2 separate regions of the Homo sapiens genome follow, and region 2 is linked to region 1. The links are contacts of gene promoters, found by promoter capture Hi-C in blood cells and fetal thymus (Javierre and others, 2016). All regions are on one chromosome and are shown on one strand. The core of a region is centred on a gene start or on the middle of the fragment in contact, and the rest is flanking DNA. Distances in the headings are between cores, read along the strand shown. Region 1 holds the start of TFE3 (transcription factor binding to IGHM enhancer 3). Region 2 holds the start of ELK1 (ETS transcription factor ELK1).

Region 1 (5,618 bases), core at 1,008-3,507:
TTTTTGTATTTTTAGTAGAGACGGGGTTTCACCGTATTAGCCAGGATGGTCTCGATCTCCTGACCTCAAGATCCGCTTGCCTCGGCCTCCCAAAGTGCTGGGATTACAGGTGTGAGCCACTGCGCCCGGCCAACCCCCTGCTATTTTCTTTACAGCTGAATGTGAGCCCAGGTATATGTGTGTACACACACACACACACAGAGCAAGTAGGGGCATCCCTCAGCATAACAGTCCCTTGTAACACAAACTGAATGCATCACAAAGAGAACTGGAAATAATTCACTTGACGTAAAGATCTACCATTTCACAAATGAGTTTCTCCCAGCCCCAGCCAGAGTTCATGGGATGCCAACACATGCCTAAATATAAAATAGAAATATCAAAGGCTCCCCTCGCTCCAACAGACTGGATTTACAAGAGGGAGAATTTGGGTGGTTGATCCACTTTATACAAGCATTCTTTTCTTACCGGAGGAGCCTGCCCAGCCTTCTCCTGTTTTTTTGGATAGATCAAAACACACACACACCCCCAACACTAACACCCACTGGCGCACAAAATAAGAAGCCATATACACCCATCCCTTTAACTATGTCCACTACTGCGATGATCTAGGTTGTTACAGAGGAATTAGAAGATGGTGAATCGATATACAGAAAGGCTCTGCTCAGCCCCAGAGAGCAAGGGACAGTTAACACACACGTGGATGAATATGCATCCTTCAATTTAGCTAAACATTTAGAATGCTGAGAGATTGCTGGTGACTTCACTTGACAAGAATCCTCTCCCCTCCCCAAGGATCTGTCTTCCTTCCTCTCCTCACCCTCAGATGGAGCCCTAAAACCACCCAGGAAGTTGGGAAGAGGAAGCTCGGGCGAGCCACTGAGCTCAGCACAATCCCAGGCACAAAGGAGGCAAAGACCCCCCCCCACCCAGGGCTCACACACCCATTGCACAGAAGTTGGAAGAGATGGGCACTGGGGTGAGCAGGGAGGGCTGGGGCTCCAAAGCCCATTGATGAAAGTAAGGATGAGAAGAGGCCAGAGGGGATCCACCCAGGCAGGGATGGTGCAATCTGTACTCGTTCCAGCTCTATGGACAGATTCAAGATTACCCCCAGGAGCTCGGAGATCGAAAAGAAGATAAAAAGAAAAGGGGTGTGGGGCTAGGGAGTGGGAAGGGCTGAGAGGCTAGAGCGAGTAGCAGCATGAACAAGAGCCTCCTCTGGGTTCCCAAACAAGGTCTGAGGCCTCTGAGCTAAGAGGTAACATCATCGCCCTCTGCCTGGCTGTCTATCTTCCATTCAGGCCCTTAACAGGTGTGGGAAGAGGGCTTTTCCACTATCCTTGGGATCTGCCCCAGCTGGGTAGGCGGGCAGAGGGGAAAGGATTATTCTGGTCAAGTCTTGCTGAATGTTGCTTCTCTTGTTCATTCACACGCACTCACAAGGCTGGTCCCAGGCAGCATATCTGAGATACCTCCAAATCCCTCCAGATTCATGTTATCCCCAAACACAGCAACCAGTCACTGAGAGGCACCAAGCTCCCAAGACAGCACTTCTGTCCCTCAGGACCCCTTCTCCCACACTGAGGGAAAAAAGATTCTAGGATTCCCTTAAAACCAGTGCCTCACCTGACAGTGTCCCCTCAAATTCATTCCCCTCATGTCCGACTGAAAATCCCCGAATTCAGCCTCTAATCAGAGACCCTGTCTACCAAGTTCAGCTATCTCAGACCAGTTTCTGGATACTCCAGAATAGGCCCCTCTAGACGCAGTCAAGGGCTCCCCAAACCTGACCCAGACCCCGCTTAATGCACTCCCACGACTCCTTTAATAAAGCCACAATCCAAGCAGGCCACTGCCGGATTCCTTAGGTGCCCCCCCAAGACGGGCGCCCCGACGTCCTCCAAGGCTAGGCCGAGGGCCTCCAATCCCAGTCCGGGGCCCCCACTGCCCCCGAGATCAGGCCCCTGGGAGCCCCAGTCGGCACTCCCAGCCCCAGGCGGCCCCGCACCTGAGCAGCTGAGCCGAGTCGGCCGGCCTGCGCTCCTCCAACAGCACGAACACGGCTCGAGGGCCCTCCGCGCTGGCCTCTACGCCATCCCGAGCTGGTTCGGCCGCATGAGACATGACGCCCGGCCCCGGGCGAGCCCTGCCAGGCCGGTCGGGCCTCGGCCCGGTCCCCCTAACAAAATAAGAGTCCCCCCTCCCCCCAGCTCGCCACCGCCGCCTCCTCCGCTAAGCCATGGAGCTAGCACTGCGCGGGCGGGCGGCGTCGGGGAGATGGGATGGGCTGTGAGTCATCCCCCGCCCAGAACGGACCGACGCCCCCCCTCAACCTAACCCCGGACGACCGCCCTCCTCCCCCTCGTCTTCTTCCCCCTCCTCCCTCCTCCCAGGGATGGGGAAACTCCACAGGAAGTGACCGCACTGGGGATGGATGGCCCGTCTGGCCACGACCCATTAGCGAGGCGGCCAATCGCTGAACGGCGATTCGAGGGCCCACCCTAAGCGACGCCTCCGACGCGGAGGAAAAACGCGATTCGGCCCGCCCTCATTCCGAGAAGCAGCACCCAGACCACGCCCTCAGGGGCAGCGACAAATAGGCGAGGGTTGATTTGGTTGAACCACGCCTCTATGTTTGCGTCGCTTTCGGAGCCACGCCCTCTCTTCTCAAATTATCCCTCTGCAAGGTAATATTAAGCCGCTCCTTGGGTCCTCTGCGCCTGCGCATCGATGGCCAGTCGGCGCACGGAGGGTCTCCTGGCCAAGCTTTTAGCTGCGGAACCGCGCCCTCTTTCGGCCAATATTTGTAATATCTGAGCCCTAGACCGCGCTCCAACCTCGATCTGGCTGTGCTCTCTCAGCCAAAGCCATAACTATGAGGCAGAGGCAGCTACATTCCCTGAAGGTGCGGGCCAGAAACCCCCCCCTTTCGCTGTCCGCAGTCCAGCCGCCCAGCTGGTCTTCCGGGAGTATTCCGCCTGTTCCATGCCATCGAGAGCGGTTGTACTATGTTCATTGCGCTGCGCAATATGTGCTTAATAAATTCTTGACGGGTGAATGAATCTGGTCCCTTCGGTGAATGACGACTTCTGGAATCACAAAGATCCAGGTTTGAATAGGGAAGGGGACCTCCCCTCTCCCAGCCTCAGCTTTCCTGGCCTGTTAAATGGGGGTCAAAATACCTGTCTGGCAGGGTTGTTCTGAGGATTAAAGATAATGTATGAAAAGTGCTAGCAGGTTGTTTGGCATACAAGAAGCTTCCCAAAATTAGTTGATTCACTCATTTGTTCACTTATTCAACATTCACTGAGCGCTTCTGTATGCCAGACGCATGCAAGCCGGCTCGCACAAGGCGGAGGGTCTCACTCATATATCCTCAGGTGCAAATAGCTCACAAAACACCCAGACCTACAGCCTTCCCTTCCTCTTTCCTGACATCCCAAGACCCCACCCTGAGTTGCGCCTCCAGGAATTTCACCGGGCTTTCATTTACCTTGGACCTTCCTGTATTGGCATCATTATTTCACAGGTCTGTCAGTTGCTTTCGTAAACTCATCCATACTCACACACAACCATCTCGTACAAGGGGGAAACCTCTACATAATAAAGATGACTTCTGGCCGGGCGCGGTGGCTCATGCCTGTAATCCCAGCACTTTGGGAGGCCGAGGCGGGTGGATCACCTGAGGTCAGGAGTTTGAGACCAGCCTGGCCAACACGGTGAAACCCCGTCTCTACTAAAAATACAAAAAATTAGCCGGGCGTGGTGGCGGGCGCCTGTAATCCCAACTACTCGGGAGGCTGAGGCAGGAGAATCCCTTGAACCGGGAAGCAGAGGTTGCAGTGAACCAAGATAGTGTCACTGCACTGCAGCCTGGGTGACAGAGTGAGACTCAGTCTCAAAAAAAAAAAAAAAAGAAAAAAGAATACATTACCAATTGTACCAATCAAAACTCTAAAACGGAACTTGTAGATCCAATGTTAAAATTCCTATGATGCCTTAAACATGTAAGAATGGGCCGGGCACGGTGGCTCACACCTGTAATCCAGCAGTTTGGGAGGCCAAGGTTGGTGGGTCGCTTGAGGCCAGAAGTTCGATACCAGCCTGGCCAACATGGCAAAACCTCGTCTCTACAAAAATACAAAAATTAGCCGGGCGTGGTGGTCTGCGCCTGGCCTGTAGTCCCAGCTACTCGGGAGGCTGAGGCAGGAGAATAGCTTGAACCCGACAGGCGGAGGTTGCAGTGAGCCGAGATCACGCCACTGCACTCCAGCCTGGGGCGACAGAGTGAGACTCTGTCTCAAAAACAAAAACAATGGCCCAGTGCGGTGGCTCACGCCTGTAATCCCAGCACTTTGAGAGGCCGAGGCAGGTGGATCACTTGAGGTCAGAAGTTCAAGACCAGCCTGGCCAACGTGGCAAAACCCTGTCTCTACTAAAAATACAAAAAAATTAGCCAGGCATGGTGGCGTGCGCCTGTAATCCCAGCTACTAGGGAGGCTGAGGCACAAGAATCGCTTGAACCCGGGAGGTGGAGGTTGCAGTGAGCCAAGATCGTGCCACTGCACTCCAGCTTGGGAGACAGAGCTAGACTCCGTCTCAAAAAAAACAAAAACAAACATGTAAGAATGGCTAATTTTACAAAAGAAGAAAGAGGAGGGTCTGGCGGGGTGGTTCCCACCTGTAATCCCAACACTTTGGGAGGCCAAGGTGGGAGAATTGCTTGAGCCCGGGAGTTTGAGACTAGTCTGGGAAACATAGGGAGACCCCGTCTGTACAAAAAAACTTTTAAAAAATTAGGCCGGGCATGGTGGCTCACGCCTGTAATCCCAGCACTTTGGGAGGCTGAGGCGGGAGGATCACAAAGTCAAGGGATTGAGGCCATCCTGGCCAACATGGTGAAACCCCGTCTCTACTAAAAATACAAAAATTAGCTGGGCATGGTGGCACGCGCCTGGCCTGTAGTCCCAGCTACTTGGGAGGCCGAGGCAGGAGAATCTCTTGAACCCAGGAGGCGGAGGTTGCAGTGAGCCGAGATTGCACCACTGCACTCCAGCCTGGGGACAAAGTGAGACTCTGTCTCAGAAAAAAAGAAAAAAAAAGAAAAGAAAAGAAAAGAAAAATTAGCCAGGTATGGTGGTGCACACCTGTGGTCCCAACTACTTGGGAGGCTGAGGCAGGAGGATCGCTTGAGCCTGGAAAGTTTGAAGTTGCAGTGAGCCGTGTTTGTACCACTACCCTCCAGCCTGGACGACAGAATGAGACTCTGTATCAATTAATCAATAAATAAAACTACATACTGTCTGATGAAAGATGCTACAAAGTTAAAAGACTTACAACAGACTGGCAACAAATATTTATAGCAGTAGAGCCACAGAGTAATTATCTTGTCACACATCCCAATCCTACAAACACCAGCTTCACACACGCATCTCAAATGTCTCCATGACAAGTGATATCCCATGACACCCTGCATGATATGCCTACCCTGCATCTTTCTGGGTTTCTCTCTCTCTTTTCTTTTTCTTTTTTTTTTGAGACAGAGTCTCGCTCTTGCCCAGGCTGGAGTGCAGTGGCACGATCTCGGCTCACTGCAAGCTCCGCCTCCCGGGTTC
Region 2 (5,618 bases), core at 1,993-4,492, 1.4 Mb before region 1:
CAGCTAATTTTTTTGTATTTTAGTAGAGATGGGGTTTCACCGTGATGCCCAGGCTGGTCTTGAACTCCTGAGCTCAGGCAATCCACCCACCTCAGCCTCCCAAAGTGCTAGGATTACTGGTGTTAGCCACCGTGCCCAGCCTCCCCAACTTTTAATAAATGTCAGCTCCACAAGCACAAATATTTCGCCCTGTTTCGTTCCTTGCCATATTCCAGCACCTAGAAGAGTGCCTGGTACTCACAAGGGGCTCAGTAAAGGTTGGTTGCAGGAACAGTCCCAACTAATTAGCTCTCATATCCCTTCTTCTTCCTCATGTGACCCCTACACTGGTGTCTCAAATTATCTTTTTCCCATTTATTCATGGGATAAATTCTTATTGAGCATCTGCTGTTTACCTGGTACATTTTCAGTTGCTGGAGACATAGCGGTGAATGAGCAGACAAAAACTGAGTCCTCATGGGACTCACATTCTAATGAGGAGAGACAGACAACAAACAAGTAACCCACACAGTGTGTCAGACAGTGATAAAGGGCAACGGGACAAATCAGGGACCTGGCTTGAGCCCTGCTGGGTGTGCAGCTTCAGATGGTCAGGGAGGGGTTGACTTTTTTTGTTTTTACAAGTAGCATTGTTAGGAACTTCTTTTTTATACATGTGCCTTTGTATAGTATATTCTAAGTACCATGGTGTGACAATCAACCTTTAATGAAATAACACTACCCAGGTACAACAAAATCAAATCACTCTTAGAAACATCTTTTACGCCTGTGCCTTTAAGAGAGTGTATTACACACACCACAGTGGTTGTTTTTTGGGTTTTTTTTTTTCAGAAAAAGGGATCTCGCTATATTGCCCAGGCTGGCCTGGAACTCCTGGGCTCAAGCTATCCTCCCACCTCAGCCTCCCGAGTAGCTGGGACTATAAGTGCACACCCCTGTGCCCAGCTACACACCACAGTTTTGTGAACACATTCTTTCAATGCAACAACACAGTCCTTATTCACATATACAACTAGCACTCTTAGAAACAGCTTTTATACCTATGCCTTTACAGAGCATATTACGTACCTCAGTCTTGTGAACACATCCTTTTGAAAAGGAGGAAAACCCTTACTCATATATAAACTGGCATTCTTAGAAACATCTTTCATACATGTATCTTTTTATACTGCATTCCACACACCACAGTGTGGTAAACATCCTTTGGGGGTTGGTATTTGAACAGAGTGCTGAAAGGAACCATGCAGAGATCTGGGGGTGGTGTTCAAGGCACAAAGAACAGCCAATGCAAAGGCCCTGAGGCTGGCCCATGCCTGCTATGTTTGAGGAGCTGTGTGGTGGAACCAGTGTGGTTGGAGCACAGTAAGGGGGTGGGAAGGTATAGGCGGTAATGCTAGAAAGGTTACTTGTTTTACCATTAATTCACAGTTAATATTTATTTACACTGGAAGGGATTCTAGTTCTGATCCCCCATTTCACAAATGAAGAAAAAGGCACAGAGAGGAAGTGGTTAAATCACTCATCTAAGGTCACACAGCTGCTGGGATTGGGGGGTGGGTGGGTGCTGAGAGAAGGTGAGGAATGAAGACTGCTCTGCAGGCAGAGGGAACAGCAAGAACAAAAGCTTGGAGGTGAGAACTAATTTGGTTTTTAAGGACTGAGGCCTCACGTGGGGTGGGATGAGATCTAAGAGGGGAGCCTCAAAAATTATCCTGTGTCCTGAGTACTTCCTGGGCCACCTTTGAGTAAGGAATTTAACCTCCCTATGGCCCAATTCCCTCACTACCTATCTCATGGGGTTGTGGTGAGGATTAAAGGAACTCATTCATATGAAACACTCTGCCTGATATACGGCAGGTGCTCAATAAACGCTAGCTCCTATTGGCATTACTATCATCACTGGCGCTAATGTATTCACTTATTGTAGTGAGGCAGAACGTCTTTGTGGTTACGAGTGTGACCAGGCTGACCCACTATTAAGAGGTGGAGGACAGGGAAGGCCGTACAGTGCTCCATCACAAGGAAAAGAGGATCAGCACGTTCTCTTCTGGGAAGGGAAAAAAAAAGAGAAGGAAATTGAAAGTACACGGCCGATCTTCCCCCAATTACAAAGCACTGGACTCACGGGAGGGTATGCGGGGGACTGTGCAAGCATACAGGGGTGTGGGGGAGGAAGGCCAATGAACAGATCCACTGCAAAGGGAGGGGTGATGAGGCTCATCGTCTGAGGGGAAGGGGAGCAGAAAACCTTACAGACTCCTGCACCACAGTGAGAGGAGAGAAAAGCCATCACACAGACTGATTCAAAGCAGAGAGGGAAAAGGCTATGGACTGAGCTACTGAAAATAGGGAGATGTAAAGCACTAAACTAACCCACTATTAAAAAGGAGAGAACCCCAAGCGCTAGAGCGACAGTCTACGAAAAAGAGGAGACAGGGCAATGGACTGATAGCTAAAGGGACGTGAATCCAAACATGAAGACTGATCCACTATAAAATGGTGGTGGTGGTGGTGGGGGGGGGGGGTGGTTTTGAAAAAAGCCATGGACTGATGCATTGGGGGACTGGAGGAGGCAGGAATACAAACTCAGGTAGACTCACTGTTAAAGAGGGATGCGGAGGAGTGCGGCGCCACGGATTGATTCGCTACGATGTACAGGAAGGGTGGAATAAATAAGGCCACGGACGGGTCTCCTGAAAGTTGAGGCTAGGAGAAATCCAAACACTCAGATACACCTACTATTAAGGGGGCTGAACACTGTCACAGGCTAGCTCCCTATAAGTGGGGGTGGGTGGGGGGCGGGTGGGGGTAGGGGTAGGGGGAAAGCCTATGGACGAGTCCACCCTAAGTTGGCGTGGGGAAAAACATAAGCACGCAGACCGATCCATTATACAACGGGAGGGGGAGGTTAGGCCACGGTCAGATCCACTATAAGGGACGAAGGGCTTGAGCAATGCCACACGCAGGTCCACCAGCCGTGGTGGTGGCGGCGGGGAGTCGAACACCAGCAGGCCACCGGCCAAGCCACATCCTCTGCGCGGGGGCGGGAAGGATACGTGGGGTCACGGACTGGGCCCTCCACCCTCCAGGCCCAGAGCTCACCTGTGTGTAGCGTGGCGGTGGCGTTGGCAATGTTGGCAGCTCCGGGGGGCGGGGGCTCCATACGCGGCCCCACCGCCCCCCAGGCCTGGGTTCCGAGGCGGCGGTGGAGGTGGTGGTGGCGGTGGCGGCGGCAGCACCTAGAAGCCGCCCCTGCGTTTCCCTACAGCTCACGTGGGCCCGAGGAGGAGGAGCCCAATGTCCCGCCGCTCGCTGATTGGCCAAAGCGCTATTAATCGGCCGCAAGGCCTCGAGGGGTTGGGGGACGGGCCCTTCCCTACAGAGCTGTGCCGTGATTGGCGTAAGGGGAAATGATGGAACGCTCACGGCCCCTGGAGTCCCGAGGAGGCGCGTTCGGCCTTCACGGTGCTCCACGCCGATTGGCTCAAGGACTGACGGACTGTGAGCAACTGAAAAGGCTCGGGGCCTGTGTCGGGGGGGCGGGGGTCTGCCTCACACTGATTGGCTTACATGGGATTGATGGAAGACAGCCCCCAAGGACGGGGGTGGGTGGCCCTGTTTTTCTCTGATTGGCGGACGAGGGACTTCTAGACCCCTGCCAAAACACCAAGGGGGCGGTGTCGCACGCCATGCTGCTCAGCGGAAGCAGGGCTTGTATAGAAATGGGCGTAGCAGCCGGCGGGAGTGGGTCGGACTGGGCTCCGCGTAGGCGGGCAGGGCAGCTCTACGGTTAGACAAGACCATAGAGCTGGGTAAAGACGAATTTAGAACACAGCGGAGGTAGGAGGGCAGGATGGCTGTCAGGCACACGAAAGAGCATTGAGTGGCAGAAACGAAATGCTTTCAGAGGGCAGGGTTGAACTGCGGCCAGAGTTAAAAAGGGGAGGAACCTGGCTCTGCATTGATTGGCGGTGGCTGGACTCAACCTAGAATAGGGGCCCGACTAGGGAGAGCGGGATCCAGGTCTGTGCCCATTGGAAGCTGGAACACTTACAAGCAGGGGCTAAGACAAGGTAGGGCTGAGTTAGGGTTTGGGTGTAATTTGGGGTACCTGGGGAATGATTGGGTGTGTGAAAGCGTAAACCTTAGGGCCCTTTGATTGTTGTGGGAATGAACAAACCTCCACCATGAATTGGCCCATTCTCTATGGCAATTCAAAGGGTGGCGTCTAGGAAAAGGAATGGAAGAAAGGGTGAGGTGGGGGGCCCAGGTTGCCAAGATGACAGAAGAGAGGGCAGTGCATAAGGTCAACTGGCAAATACTGCCAGGCAACAGGCTGGAGGCAGGACTGCTGGGGCATTTTGGAGGTTCCACAGAGAGACTGGATCTCTGGGTCTCTCAGTAACTTTGTGCCCTAGGAACAGGCCCCCGTGGCAACTAGCAGGGTTTATGGGGAAAAAGAAGGGCCATGTGACTCAAAGGCATTCAGGCTCTTTAATGTCTGAGGATGGGGGGAAGAAGTCAATGGTGAGGCTTCTCTGGGAAATTCTGCAGGCCTTGTAGTTCTCTAAGCCCCTGAAAAAGAGGACAGAAGAGATTGAACAAAGACTGGGTCTGGGTTACGCCCCCAGGCTTGCTCTGACCTCCCTCCCTTGACTCCAGTTTAGAGGGAAAGATGGTCCTTCCCTTCTTTCGCTCTCTTCCTTCTTCAGGTCACCACCCTAAACACAGAGTCTGGTAGTGGGGTGAGCTGCTCTCACCTCTAGCAACATGTGGATATGGGCTTTGATATTCATGGAGTCCTTGGTGAGGCTGTTGCTGAGCCTAGAGAAAAGAAACAAGAAAGGGCAAAATGGGCCCCACATGATTATGATGACCCTTCCTTATCACTTCAAGATCTACTTATATCCTGGATGATTTCCACCTGGCTCATTCCTATGTGGAAATGCCAAGCCACCATCTGGTTTTCACTGATTCAAAGATTATTAAATGCCTACTGTATGCCAGGCAATTTTAGGCACTGGGAGATAGCAGCAAACACAACAAACAAAACTCCCGGCCTGATGGACTTCAAATTCTTGTAAAGAAAGACATAACAAAAAACCAATGGAATAAAAGCTATGTGTCAGATGGTTCTAACTACAATAACAAAAATTAAAAATGAGAGACAATAAGGAGTACAGGAGTGGGGGGCTGCAATTTTAAAGAGGGCTCAGGGATGGCTTCACGGAGAAGCATTTGAGTAAAGACTTAAAGACAGTGAATTTTGAGTAGTGTGGCTATATGGAGGATGTGTTCCACACACAAGGGGCAGCAAACACAAAGGCACTGAGGTGGGAGTGTGCCTGGCATGTTTGAGGTGCAGCAAAGAGGCCACTCTGGCTGGAGAAGAATAAGTGAAGGGGGAATGTAAGAGGTGAGGTCAGAGAGGTAATGAGGGAGACAAACTGTGTGAAGCCTACAAGGCCATGGTAAGGACCCTGGCTTTGACCTTAAGTGAGATGGGAGCCAAGGGAAGGTTGCAGCAGAGGAAGGAGGTTGAATTACATGAACCAGTCAGTTGACTCCTTTTCTCTAAGCCAGTTTGGATCAGATCTCGCCCAAAAGAATCCTAATTG

The links. The method cuts DNA at HindIII sites, captures the fragments that hold promoters and counts their contacts. A CHiCAGO score of 5 or more calls a contact.
Region 2: the fragment with the promoter of ELK1 here is called in contact with the fragment with the promoter of TFE3 in region 1 in 1 of 17 cell types (non-activated CD4 T cells); the score reaches 8.1 in non-activated CD4 T cells.

Annotation. Positions count from the first base shown.
Region 1 is chrX:49,041,100-49,046,717 of GRCh38, forward strand. TFE3 (transcription factor binding to IGHM enhancer 3) reads right to left here and starts at 2,258. Exons shown (of 10, transcript NM_006521.6): 1 at 2,012-2,258. The coding sequence starts at 2,127. RefSeq lists an enhancer at 1,584-2,447 and a silencer at 1,989-2,228. The HindIII fragment of the contact is 3,845 bases long and covers 1-2,767 here.
Region 2 is chrX:47,647,321-47,652,938 of GRCh38, forward strand. It overlaps ELK1 (ETS transcription factor ELK1), which reads right to left and starts at 3,243. Exons shown (of 7, transcript NM_001114123.3): 1 at 3,103-3,243; 2 at 2,601-2,706. It overlaps UXT (ubiquitously expressed prefoldin like chaperone), which reads right to left. Exons shown (of 7, transcript NM_004182.4): 6 at 4,761-4,824; 7 at 4,476-4,575. The coding sequence ends at 4,522. RefSeq lists a cis regulatory region at 2,706-3,686 and a silencer at 3,018-3,427. The HindIII fragment of the contact is 5,079 bases long and covers 1,623-5,618 here.